Linked DNA regions of Homo sapiens: regions 1, 2 and 3 are each linked to region 4. The links are contacts of gene promoters, found by promoter capture Hi-C in blood cells and fetal thymus (Javierre and others, 2016). All regions are on one chromosome and are shown on one strand. Each heading gives the region's core, a stretch centred on a gene start or on the middle of the fragment in contact. The rest is flanking DNA. Distances are from core to core; before and after follow the strand shown.

Region 1 (3,123 bases), core at 8-2,507, 1.0 Mb before region 4:
CCGCAAAGCCACTTGGAGACACAGATGATCAGCCCCAGTCATGCGCTGCTGTGGATTTTGCACATGCAGTTGGTCTAGCCTCGGCCCCGCCATCACCTTGTCTTAACACCGGTTGTTATATTTAAATTCGTAACCTTTTTTCTTATTAAAAAACAATATGCATTTTTTGTTGAAAACTTAAGGAGCACAATTTTAAATAAGCAAAAAAAAATTTAAGTATAATTTTCATCTCACCACACAGAGCTAAGTGCTGGTAACATTTTGTTGATTAAGCTTTCAGACGTAGTCAATACACAAATCACTAACCTTTCAGTCCTGCCTAGTTGAGCCATTCTTACTGTATAAACTGACCTTTTTGGAGGGCATTTAACCTGCCTCCATTCTTTAACTATTAGAAACACAGAGTCCATCAATATCCTTGTGAAGCATGGTGCACCTCCTTAATGATCTCTAATACTTTTCTAAGTGTAGAAATTGCCATGCCCTCCATCTTCCTTCCTAAAATGTTCTAGGCTTGGACCAGACACTTTCTCTGGTCCTTCTGCCTCAAAAAAATCTCCCATTCGTGAGATAAGATTGGAACACCTTAATAGGGTGGGAAGTTTGGGTTTTTTTCTTGCTTGCTTAAAGAGTTAGGAGTCTTGTATTTTCACTGTACAGCCTCAGTGTGAAGGCCCTGCTGTGGGGGAAACTCAGGAAGAGAGCATCCTTTGAGCCCTCAAGGGCAAAAACAGGGACATCCCTTCAAAATGTTAGCCAAGTTTATGTCCTTCCTCCCTGAGCCCCAGTGAAATGACAGAAGAAGAAGAAGAAGAAACATAAGAACTAGTCCCTGACTGTGCTGGAAAAACAGATCAGGCTCTCCCCATCTCAAGGACAATGAGGAATTTCTAGAAACGAGAGTGGAAGTGATCAGCTTGGAAGCACCGCATCATGGTTGAACAGCTGTGGGTGCAAGGAGGGCAGTCTCCACGTGAGACAGAAGAGCCCTGGGAAACTCAGGCTCCGAGGCCACACTGAGAGTGGGAGGCGGCGGTCACTGGCCGGCAACCCCCACGGACTAGAACAAGGCTCTAAGGCAGGGCGCGTCGGGGAGGCCAGTTGGTGCCCGAGGAAGGGACTGAAGCTGGAGGTGAAGGGGAGCGGAGCCCCAGGGACCTGATGGCCACCAAACAAAAGGAAAATCCGGGCCCCCAGAGCAGCCTCCTGGAGACCGTCCCCCTCCTGCCTCCCTCTGGGGCAGGCTGTTCCCGACCTCAGAAAGCTGCACCAGTCAGAGGTGCATTTCCTATCCAGTCCACAGAGCTGCTTGTGAAGACAGAGGTGCAGAAAACCACTGGGCAGTGACAGTGACCAGCGGGTGTTGGGAGCCTGCTCGGCCACTCACCAACCAAGCAACTCACCCATGACGGCTCTGACCCCCCATATGCCAGGCCTCCGCATCACAGAAGTGACAGCTCCTGCTTGTGGTGGGCCTCTGGGATTGTCTAGGAGGGATGATGCTCCCAAGGCAGAACCCACAGCACCCAGGTTTTTCCCTCTGTGAAGGCTTCTAGGGAAGTGGGGCAAAAATATCTGTTGTTATCTTAAGGTCAGGCTGGTTTCTGCTTTGCTATGACTGCTAGGAAGCTCAGAGCCTAATTTGCAACTCACCCCTAGCAGCTATACAGGATCACTTGGTGTGCATTTGTGGTTCTCTTTTGATTCTTGGCTTCATCTTGATTTCTTTTCCTCTTATTTTTTTTTCCACCTCAATTTCACTCATAGTGTCTATCTTGTTAGCCAGTAGTGCCATAAAGTCTGGGGCTGGGGGTCGGGGGATTGCTCAGGACCCAGGGGCTGTCTTGGCTTCCATCTCCCACCGCAAGCCTCTCTGGTGCCGAGTTCAATTCAAGGACTGGGGATGCTCAGTGTTTGTAAACATCCCCTCAGACGGAAACCCAAATGGTGAAACTGGCTGCTTGCAGAGGTCTTTCCTCAGGGACACGCCCAGAGTCCTGGAGGGCGTTCCTGCTGTCCCTTTGTTCTCTCTCTCTCTAATGTTTCTACCTTTGTGTGTGTGCATCACAAAGGTGAGAAGCAGTCAAACTTGGGAAGAAGAAATGGCTGAAATGCTACCATTTACAGCTCAAGCCATGCTTCCTCGCTGACGTTGGCCGATGCGTGGTCAGAGTTGGTGCCACCTGCTCGATTTCACATGTTGTGGCCAATGACATCACCACAAAATGACCCAAGTGTCGGGAAGCTTAAGGGTGTCCAGGCATCCACCAGCGGGAAGGGTCGGTGAAGACTGGACAGCCACATCCACTTCTGAGCAGTGACCCTGTGGCCTTCAGCGGCTGGGCGGGGAGTAGGGAGGATGGTCCGCCAGCCACGAGCCCCACTGCAGCTTATCCGGGTCAAGAACACACCACACAAGCACTGCAGGGCCATGGCTGTTGGAACTACCCCTTGAGTCTGGGCAGAAACTGAGAGCAAGCATGTAGATACTTTGCTGTCCCTTGATGCGGCCAGGGCATTTTTGCCTGTATTTTATGAAAATATCAGTCCACAGTGGATTGGACATTTTAAAAAGCTGGTTCTTCATCACAGAAAGTTTGAGAAGCACATGTCTGAAAATATTGTAAGAAACACCAATATCAAATCCAGTAATAATCATATTCGCTGCCCTCGCTCTGCTTGTCCTCCCACAGGACAGCTCTCTTGGATGAGCGTCACAGCAAAAGGCTTGTCCAGATCATCTCTCACTGATCCGGCCTCTAGGAGACTTAGCCCTGTAGGCACTGATTCAAATTACACAATGCCTTTCTCTTAGTTTTTGCCATCATTATTTATAAAGACACACTGGAAACTTGGATTACAAAAATGTTACTATTTCAGGGACTCAGAAGACGACAAGTCAATGGCTATTGTACCCCGCAGTGCACCAGGCTGTGCTGTGCTTCCTGGAGGTGTGAGCCCAGGATCGTCCCTTCCAGGAGGTAGATCCTCACAGCTCTCACCGCTTCCCCAAACTTTATGGCAAAACAGCTGTGACAAGCCGTCAGCGGGGCCTACCATATCTGACAGTTTGGAGTAACTTGGCCATTGGCTTGAATCAATCGTCAAATTGGCTGTTGGCAA
Region 2 (2,824 bases), core at 318-2,817, 1.0 Mb before region 4:
TGCTTTTCCTACAGAAGTACGGAACCATGCATGACGCTGGCAGAATCCAGGTCAATGAGCATGTGCTTAACCATAATTTTTAAAAATACATATTTTGTTTTGTACCAAAGGGCTTTCATCTTCTCCTCCTTTGTAAAAATCACACAGCTTTTGAGTCCGTTTGTGTTGGCTTTCATTGAACTGTCCTGGGTTTTATCAGCCCAGAGACATTCCCTCCAGGACTCCTACGGGTGCCACCTCCAGAGCGGTAATCAGGGCTAAGCTTAATTAGAGAGAAAAACTTCCAGAAAGGGCAACTCCATCCCTTTTTATGGTAAAATAAACACATTTCCAAAAGGGGCCTTTCCTTTAATTAAATTCTCTGCAATGTGGCAGCTGCTTGGGAGGTATTTTTGCATATTTGGGTTTAAGAAGATGTATGTACATAGAGGTGATGTCACATTTGGAATGATGAGTGTTTATAAGACCAAGTTTATGAGTTTACTAACTCGCAAGCCAGCTATCTTCATACCAGAAAGGACAAAGCCAGCGTCCAAGCGTGGGCCTTCCCACGTCCAGCCATCTCGTAAAAACAGGCGAGGTGGGCCTCGGGAGAGACACAAATGTCAGGGGCGCAACACAAAAACCGAACAGGAATGTGGGGATGGGGGCTGCCGGCCCCTGGCGCTCAGCGGGAGGCCCCACCATAGAGCTGGGGCCCAGGGAGTTTGAGTATTTACCCCAGAGGTTACCCAGGATGGACGTGTTCAGTCTGGGCACACAATCAAAGCCCGCGCGGGCCCCTCAGGGAGGGTCTTTCCCCTCCTGCTGGGAGGCAGGGTCCCCAGCGCCCCCTGACCTCGCCCTTGCAATTGCTCAAACTTCAGGACCGCTCATCCCAGGCTCCACGGGGCTGCTGCAGAGCCAAGAAGACCCTGTTCTACTGAGCGACCGTTCAAGGGACAGTACTTTTTAGGGGGGTCAATATGAATCTCCTAATTTAACCTCTCCGCTGCCACAGCCATTCAACCCGTCCCTACAGAGCTCCTGCAGCGGTGCTCACGTGGCCTTCGGGAGGATCCACCAAGGTCACCTGCGTCACACCGGGGAACGACTCCCTCCCTCCCAAGAAAGCTCCGAGACAAAACCTGTACCAGGAAGGGTCCCTCGGCTCGTGGTGCTGCAGTGAGCCAGGCTACACCCTGGCTGGCAGAGCCCCGGGGCTTCCAGCAGCGCAGCCCTAGGCCTGCGGAGGGAAGGCTGCACTCCAGCCTGTCGGGGCCGCCGGACAGCTCTCCTGGGAGGCTTGGGCCTGGCACACTGGGGCCCTCGCTCCCCTCTCCATCGCCCTCTAACCTTGGTTCAGCTCCCGGCCCGCCCCTTCCCAGTGGGAACAAAGGCAGTAGCGATGTCCTCGCTGCCGCCTTCTTCCTCCAAGAGGAGTCCACTCCCTGCAGTCCGGCCCCGCTGCCTCTCCACGCGGGCTGCCTCTTTCTCATCCCTGCGCCGGCGCATCCTCTCAGATCCACAGCAAGGAGGGGACGTGCGGGGGAGGGGTCGGCTGGCTAAAACCCAGGCTCGCCCACAGAATGGTGGGACCCCTGCCTCAGGTGGTGGGAGATGCGTGCAGGGTCCCAGCCCCAGGGCAGGCGCCTCAGCCTCTGCGCGGGGCCGCCCTGCTCTTCCCTGGCTCGCTGGGATCCAGGCCCTGGTCTAAGCCCCTGGCCTCACCTGCCCTGCGCAACCAACGGCCCCAAGGTCCAAATGCAGGGACCCTCTCGGTGACCCAGGACGTGCTCAAGTTACCTTCTTCCTGGCACACACACCCACCCCTAAATTCAAAACTATCCCCGGCCATTTGGGAAGCAAGGCTCGCTCTCGCTCCCCTGGGGCTGTCTCCTTGCGCGGAGGGCTCCAAGCTCAGGGCGGGTCGGCTCAGGCAGGGTCTGGGGGCTCGGCGGGGCGCGGGTTCAGGCAGGCCCAGGGAGCAGGCGCATGGGGCGACCGCAGAGCTCCAGGACACACAGTCCGGGTCAGTGTTCCCTAGAGACCCCTCCAAGAGCCCCTCCTGGACACCTGTGCCGACGCGCAGCCACATTTGTCCTCTTCAGGTGGAAACAGGGCCAGTCTGACACTCCCCAGTCCACGCCCTGCACACCCCCAGACCCTCCACCCTTGAGGTGGACGCCGCCCTGAGAAACCCTCTCTCCTTCCTCTGGCAGCGTCACCTGCCGTCTGCACTGGCACCTGCCGCAGTTCTCTAAGTGCACCTGGGGACGCTCACTTGTGGCCTCAGGAGAAGGATCTGGAGGACGAGGAAGACAGAGGCAGGGACATTTTCTGATGCATCAGAGACCCGCGCCTACTGCGTTAGCCCCAGTAGAGACAGCCCTGGATTTTAGAGCCGGTAAAGCCTGGGGTCACTGTGGAAGGCTCTGTCCCGCTCCTGAGGAGACCCTCCCTCTTCTGCCGGGTTCAGGCGTGGAGATCAGAGGGCAGGCAGGGACCAGAGCATCTGACTCCCGGGACGCCTCACGACCCCGAGAGAGGAGCATAAATGTGGCCTAACAAGAATGCCCTTCTCACCCCCTTGCATCCTCCCCTCCCGCAAGCATCCCTGGTGAGGGGACAGGCAGGACACACCATTGAAACATAATTTGAGAACACAAGAAAACAATATGAGGCTGATTTCTTAGCATGCTGAATGGAGAGACGGTCAAAACAAAACAAAACAAAAAACAAACTAGATGGATTTCGCAACTGGAGGCGGAAGGAGCTTTGTAAGAGCCCAAGGAGAATCTAATTAGAGACTTCAACTAGAGTTTTGCAAATGAATTATTTACAA
Region 3 (3,078 bases), core at 294-2,793, 1.0 Mb before region 4:
TGGCGTTGTCTGTTCAATCTCACTCCCCCACCTGATGCTCCTCTTTCCCGGACCTCCTCCAAGACGGGCCAGAGTTGCCCGGCCAACTCTGCCAGTCTCTTGCCTGCTCTTTTGTGGTGATTTTCTTTTGAAATCTCAGTTGCTGTGTGATGCGTTCTTGGAGAATTCCTTACGTCCGTCTTCCGTTTCACCCGAGATCTGTTTGCCTGAATTTGCTGAGGATTTTATTGCATTTGCTGGTTTCCTTTTTATTTCAATGAGCATCTTTTTAATTTTCAGGTTTACTAATTAGATATTTTCCATTTCCATCAGTTCTGATCCTTTTCATTTCTGCCAAGTTTTGTGTATAGCCAATTACTCTTTTTAGGCTATTTCTTGTCTTTCCTCTTTAAGATGCTAAAAAACTTACTTTAAGGTCATTTTCCTGTTGCTGTGGTTCTCCCCCGTGTCCCTCTCCACACTCCTCCTTCTCTCCCTGTCCACGCCTCTCACATACACTCAACCCTGTCTGCCCTGAGGGTTTGCATCGGTCTTCGCCCAGCCTCCAGGGATGCCCTCCGTGAACCAGGTTTCATGTCCCACAGAGCATCGGCTAAATCACAAATAGAGTAATGGCATTGGTGGTGCCTTACCTGGGTCCTGGACAGGAGGCTGCTTCCTCTCACCTCCTGGTCCTTGAATCTGTGGAAGCTAAAGCCCGAGAAGCACTCAGCTGGAATTTTCTTTCTGTTCCCTCTCTGGGGTGGGGGTCTCTCTGTGCAGTCAGCTGGCCTCTGCTCCCAACCGTGGGGGCTGCACCAGGTGCCAGCACTTCCCCGACATTGGTTCCGGACCGGAAGCCCCATCTCAGACCCCACCCACGGGTTTTGTTCTGTCTGTTTTTGGTGTCTGTGATGCTTGGCTTGTTTTGTTGAAATATGTTTTCTCTAATGCTGCTGCGTATTCGGAGCAGAGAAGAGGCCTCAGTGCATGAACTTGTAGGGCCGTGCTGTCCAGAAATCCGGAAGTTTCATTTCTTTGTTTACATAAATCAACTTAAACCCAACTTGGAGCCCCACCCTGTGGGGCTGGCAGAAAATGCAACTCTCTCCCCTCCTAGAGTCCCTCCAGGATCCAGAAGCTTCCATGGTGCCCAGAAGAGCTGAAGGGCTGGGAGCTGTCACCACTGCCTCAGTGCCACTCGCACGCAAGTCCCGCTGCCCTCAGGCTGATGGCTGTTCCTCCACCCTGCCCGATGCCTGGGGATCCTTGCCGGGGATGAGAGCCTCAGGGCACAACATGGGCAGCCGTGTGCGCTCCACCCTCCCAGGCTGTGCCTTGGAGCTGTGCTCAGACCTCAGGTCCTTGGGGACACCAGCCTCCTCCTTTTCCCAGCCTCAGTGAATCTTGCCCTCTCCCTCCCACTCGCCTCCTGGGTTTGGGTTTTTATGAAATGGGTTTAGGTTTTTACAAAAGACAGAAAGAGCCTTTGGCTTTGAGCTGCTTTGGCGTTCTGCCTGGAAAAAAAATCCCCGAGGCAAAAAAATTACAAAGAGCCGGGTGATCTGCTTGAAATTGGATGAGGGGGAGAAATAAGAAAGCAAAACAAAGATTAATATCTCCACCCACCCCCTCAAAGTGTATTCCATCACACATCCCATTAAGAGCTGGCGAATGAATGGGCTGCCATTCTGAGAAGGGCCAATTCTTGGGGGAAACAGCTGGCAGTCACCACGTCCAGAAGCCGGCGATGTGGGGGCAACTGAGGCAGGGGCCACGGCCCAGCCAGTCGAGCAGAACTGGAAGGATCACAGCCCAGCCCCGGCTCGGAATGGCCCCTCGGCAACCACCCTGAGTTACCGACAAAATGCCGACGGACTGTTTCAAACTTGTATTCTCTTAAGCACGTTGGGAGAGTATGTTTCTGTGGTTTAGAACGCTTACTATCAAAAGAGCATTTTGAACATAATTTTGTCCCTTAAAGAGGTAAGCTTCAATTACTTGAGAACTTCATGGAAGCCTCGCATTTTGCAGCAATGCCGGGTCCGTGCGTACCATCGTCTGTCCTGGTTGTGTCTCTGTGTTCTCCATGTGAGAGGGCGGGGAGGGCCGACCAGGGCTGTTGAGGCTCAGGTTCCTCGCGAACTCTGCAGGGACTCCTGGGCACGCCACTCCCCTTTTGCCCCCCATGGCATTTATCTGTAAAGTAAGAGTTCTGCTGGGTTAAATGGCGCCACCTCCAAAAGATATGTCCAACAGGAACATCAGAGTGTGCCCCTAGTTGGCCCAAGGGCCATGTCATTAAGATAAGAATCTCGAGATAAGATCATTCTGGTTTAGGGTAAGCCCTAAACCCAATGCCAGGAGTCCTTAGAAGAGAAGAGAAGGGGAGAAGACACAGAGCCACGGGGAAGGAGGCCACGTGGAGACAGAGGCAGAGGTTAGAGTGATGCATCCAGCAGCCAGGCTTCCCCGCACCTGCCAGGAGCTGCAGAGAGCCCCGGAGAGATTCCCACTCACAGCCGCAGAAGAAACCAGCCCTGCCGCCGTGATGTAGGACTTCCGGCCTCCAGAACTGTGGGAGGACACATTTCTGTTGTTTGAAGCCACCCAGTTTGGGGTCATTTTTTATGACACCCCTAGGAAACTAATTCAGGAGGTTAAACTAAATCATTTCGAAGCCTCCTCAGAAATCTCCAGGCTATGGTTAGGAAGCGGGGTCCTGAATGTGGAATCCCTCTGAAGAACACAGCACACATATTCCCGTCTCCATCGTCTCCCTTCTCTCTGGAATCCGGGCCGGCCGAGAGGAAGCTGCCCTTCCCAGGCTGCTGCACCAGAGGACTGGGGGCCTGCCAGTGAAGCTTACAAGAGAAATGGCTGTAGGATGCAAAGATAGTTAGCCTGGGAAAGAGGAGACGTCCAGGGCCGTGGTAAGTTGAAAGCTTCTCATTTGGAAAAGAGATTAATCTTATTTTCGGTATTTCCAGAGGCAGCCCTGCAAGAGGAGTCAGATCTCTTTTCTTATTTCTTTCTTTCTTTATTTAGAGATAGAGTCTTGCTCTGTCGCCCAGGCTGGAGTGCAGTGGCACGATCTGG
Region 4 (3,204 bases), core at 42-2,541:
TGAACATAACAGGGCACATACTTTATGTGTAAGCCCCTCAGAAACACCAATGCTAGCATCTGGTTTTGGAAGTCAGGACAGTGCTTTTTGTGGAGAAGGGTTAATGACTGGGAGAGGGCGTGAAGGCAGCTTCTAGTTCTTGATCTGGGAGCTGGTTCCATGAGCACAGTCCTTTTGTGAAAACATATGCAGACGAAGGCTTGTTACTTGTGCACAGTTGTGTAGGTTTGTTAAATTTCACTTAGTTCTGTAGGTTTGTTAAATTTAACTTAAAAATTAATTTAAAGAGCACAAAGTGCCACATACAATGTTGTTTCATCACTACAGATTTTACTCTAGGACATTTAGTTGTCTTAGTGTGAAGTTTGACCCAAGCCCAAGGCCTTTTTCAAGGCGTCCTTAAATTCCTTGTTCCTCAGGCAGTAAATCAAAGGGTTAATTATTGGCGTGACAACAGTGTACACGGCAGAGATGAGCTTGTTGGAGCTCTGGGAATCAATGGCTTGGGGCCGGACATACATGAAAAGCAAGGCTGTATAGAAGACGGTGACCACGGTGAGGTGAGAGGCGCAGGTAGAGAAGGCTCTCCAGCAGCCGGTGGCCGAGGGGATGCGCAGGACAGCCAGGGTGATGTGCCAATATGACAGTATGGTGGCCAGGAGCGGAAACACCAGGATGATGAAGGCCAGGATGAAATCCACCAGCTCTGCAGTGGAGAAGTCCGTGCAGGCCAGCTTGAGGATGGGGGAAATGTCACAGAAGAAGTGGTTCAAGACGTTGGAGCCACAGAACGTGACGCTGGAGATAAAACAGACCTTGATCATGGAGATGGTGAAGCCACTCACAAAGGAGAAGCCCACCAGCTGGAGGCACAGCCCCGGGGTCACAAGGACGTGGTAGCGCAGCGGGTGGCAGATGGCCACGTAGCGGTCGTAGGCCATGGAGGCCAGAAGCACACACTCGGTGCACACCAGGGAGCTGAAGAAGTAGAGCTGCGTCATGCACCCGACGAAAGAGATGCGTTTCTGCTGGAGGAGGAAGCCCTCCAGCATCTTGGGGGTGATGTCAGACACGTACCAGATCTCCAGGAAAGACATGGAGCTCAGAAAGTAGTACATGGGCCTGTGGAGGGAGGTGCTGCTCCAGACGATGAGGATGATGGCCAGGTTCTCCACCAGGACAAAGAGGTAGGTGAGCAGGAAGAGGAGGAAGAGCAGGTACTGCAGCCCTGGGGCCGTGGGGAGGCCCACCAGGATGAAGGTGCTGACCTTGGTGACATTCTCCCCACTCATGCCTCTGTGCTTGGGAGCTGCAGGCCTACAAAACATCAAAGAGCAAGAGGAAAGGGCTGCAGGGCAGCTGAGGCAGAGAGAGAGTGGAGCTGGACTTGGATGGGGAGTTTTGGTGCAAAGAGAGGCCACGTGGCTCCCCAGAGCACCAGGAGAGAGCAGTGATCTGCTGATCTTCTGAGTTTTAAAGTAGAAAACTTCTGTGTGCTTGCATTTACATATAACCATGAAGTAGGAATGAGGAAGAGAGTATATGCTGAGGAACAGAGCCGGGCAGCTCCAGGGTGGGCAAAACCCAAAGCTCTGAGTCCAGGGGCACTACCAGTCCACACGTGCCTGGGGCAGCTCTCAAGATCCAAGTGGGCATGGACACAGAGCTGGCCCTCCTTAGGGTCCTTCATCTGAGGGTTCCTGCAAGTCGGGGCAGCAGCCTCGGCATGAGGTGAGGGGCTATCAGCCTACCAGGGCAGAACCCCAAACTGGGCTAACCAGCCGGAGGAATGCAGGGAGGGCTCCCAGGAAAGGGCTGCCTGGCTCTGGGGGACCTGGTCCACAGGTGGGGGAGAGAGAGGGTAGCCACAGCCCCTTGCCCCACAGGGCATCTGGTGGTTCTTTTCATTGGCAGTCTAGGTGGGTTGAATGGCAGACTTCCACCAGCTCACAGCTGGGGAGGGTGACCCCAGGTTTCTGGCCCAGGATGCTAAAAATTGATGAGAAGACTAGGAGAGGGCCAGGTGGGTGCCGAATAATCTGGAGTCTGTGCTGGGGAGGCGTGGTGCGCGGCACTTACTGGAGAGCCTCATGGTGACGTGTAGGGGGTTGGCTAGACAAGTCGAGTTCATGGAAGAGTTGCAGGCTGAAAAACAAACTTCTAGAAGGGAATTGCCCAGGGACAGGTTTACACTTGGAAACGCACCTGTACTCCTGCCGTCTAGGGTGAGCATTCTGTGGGAACCCAAGATCATCCACTGGGGCGGCATGGCCATTCCCTGCCTTAAAATGCCAGCGTGCAGTTCAGAGTTTAGGATCAATTTCACAAGCATTTACTACTCACTCCAGTCACCGCCTACTGTCTCCCCAAAACAAAAGCAATAAGAACCCCTGCCATTAAAGGGGTCTCAAGATGTGAGTCTGAATGTAGCCTCTCTAGACACCATCCAGGGTGGTGACTGTGTCCTCTTCCCAGCTGAGTGGCCACAGGGGGCTTTAAAGTCCACAAGGAGGAAAGTTGGGGTCCACAGGAGCTCCTTGGAAGGCCAGCAGCCCCCACCTGTTGACTGGGTTTGCTGGGGAGAGCTGGCGGTGGGGGTAGTGAGCTTTGGTTCTTGTGCTTTTAACCCAGAACAGTAGAGGCACCTATAGATTTCTCTTGATTATTTGGATAGTGGTAACTGATCATTAGTGAGTTGGCTAGTTAATACCGGATTGATTCATTAAATTGAAACTGTGTTACTTTACAAATTCAGGGCCCTTTACAGCACACTCTATCCATCCCCTGAACTTGTTAGACAATGGCTGCATTTTCTTTTAAATAAACTTTTTATTTTGGAATAATTTTAGATTTACAGAAAAGTTACAAAGAGAGTGCAGAGAGCTCTGGGAGATCCTCCATTCAGCTTCCTCCAAGGCTAACTTCCTACATGAAGAGGGTATATTTGTCACAGTAAGGGATTGATATTGGTATTACTGTGGACTAAACTCCAGACTTTGGCTTTCATCTTTTTTTCCCTCGAATGCCCGTTTCTGTTCCAGGGTACCCCATCGCTGCGGGCATGGCTGCCTTTTTAACTTGGCTGTACCTCCCTGGTTTCTGTGGACAGACTGAAAGTCCAAGCGGACGCTGCCGAGGGAGGCTGGCATCCTCTCATCGTAAACAAGGTTCTCCAATATGTTACAAAGACTGTTTTTGCCCAGT

What was found. Contacts are between HindIII fragments. The CHiCAGO score rates a contact against its expected background, and 5 or more counts as called.
Region 1: a fragment that was not itself captured here is called in contact with the fragment with the promoter of OR6B2 in region 4 in 2 of 17 cell types (M0 macrophages and M2 macrophages); the score reaches 6.1 in M0 macrophages.
Region 2: a fragment that was not itself captured here is called in contact with the fragment with the promoter of OR6B2 in region 4 in 1 of 17 cell types (M0 macrophages); the score reaches 6.3 in M0 macrophages.
Region 3: a contact is called between a fragment that was not itself captured here and the fragment with the promoter of OR6B2 in region 4, in 1 of 17 cell types (M0 macrophages). The highest score is 5.0, in M0 macrophages.

The regions. Positions count from the first base shown.
Region 1 is chr2:239,019,551-239,022,673 of GRCh38, forward strand. No RefSeq gene overlaps it. Among named protein-coding and RNA genes, the nearest start is that of MIR4440, 48 kb to the right of the region's middle. The HindIII fragment of the contact is 1,972 bases long and covers 272-2,243 here.
Region 2 is chr2:238,984,765-238,987,588 of GRCh38, forward strand. No RefSeq gene overlaps it. Among named protein-coding and RNA genes, the nearest start is that of LINC01940, 60 kb to the left of the region's middle. RefSeq lists enhancers at 216-1,198, 1,199-2,179. The HindIII fragment of the contact is 2,614 bases long and covers 261-2,824 here.
Region 3 is chr2:239,001,995-239,005,072 of GRCh38, forward strand. No RefSeq gene overlaps it. Among named protein-coding and RNA genes, the nearest start is that of MIR4440, 65 kb to the right of the region's middle. The HindIII fragment of the contact is 850 bases long and covers 1,119-1,968 here.
Region 4 is chr2:240,029,138-240,032,341 of GRCh38, forward strand. It overlaps OR6B2 (olfactory receptor family 6 subfamily B member 2), which reads right to left and starts at 1,292. Exons shown (of 1, transcript NM_001005853.1): 1 at 354-1,292. The coding sequence starts at 1,292. The coding sequence ends at 354. The HindIII fragment of the contact is 5,761 bases long and covers 1-3,204 here.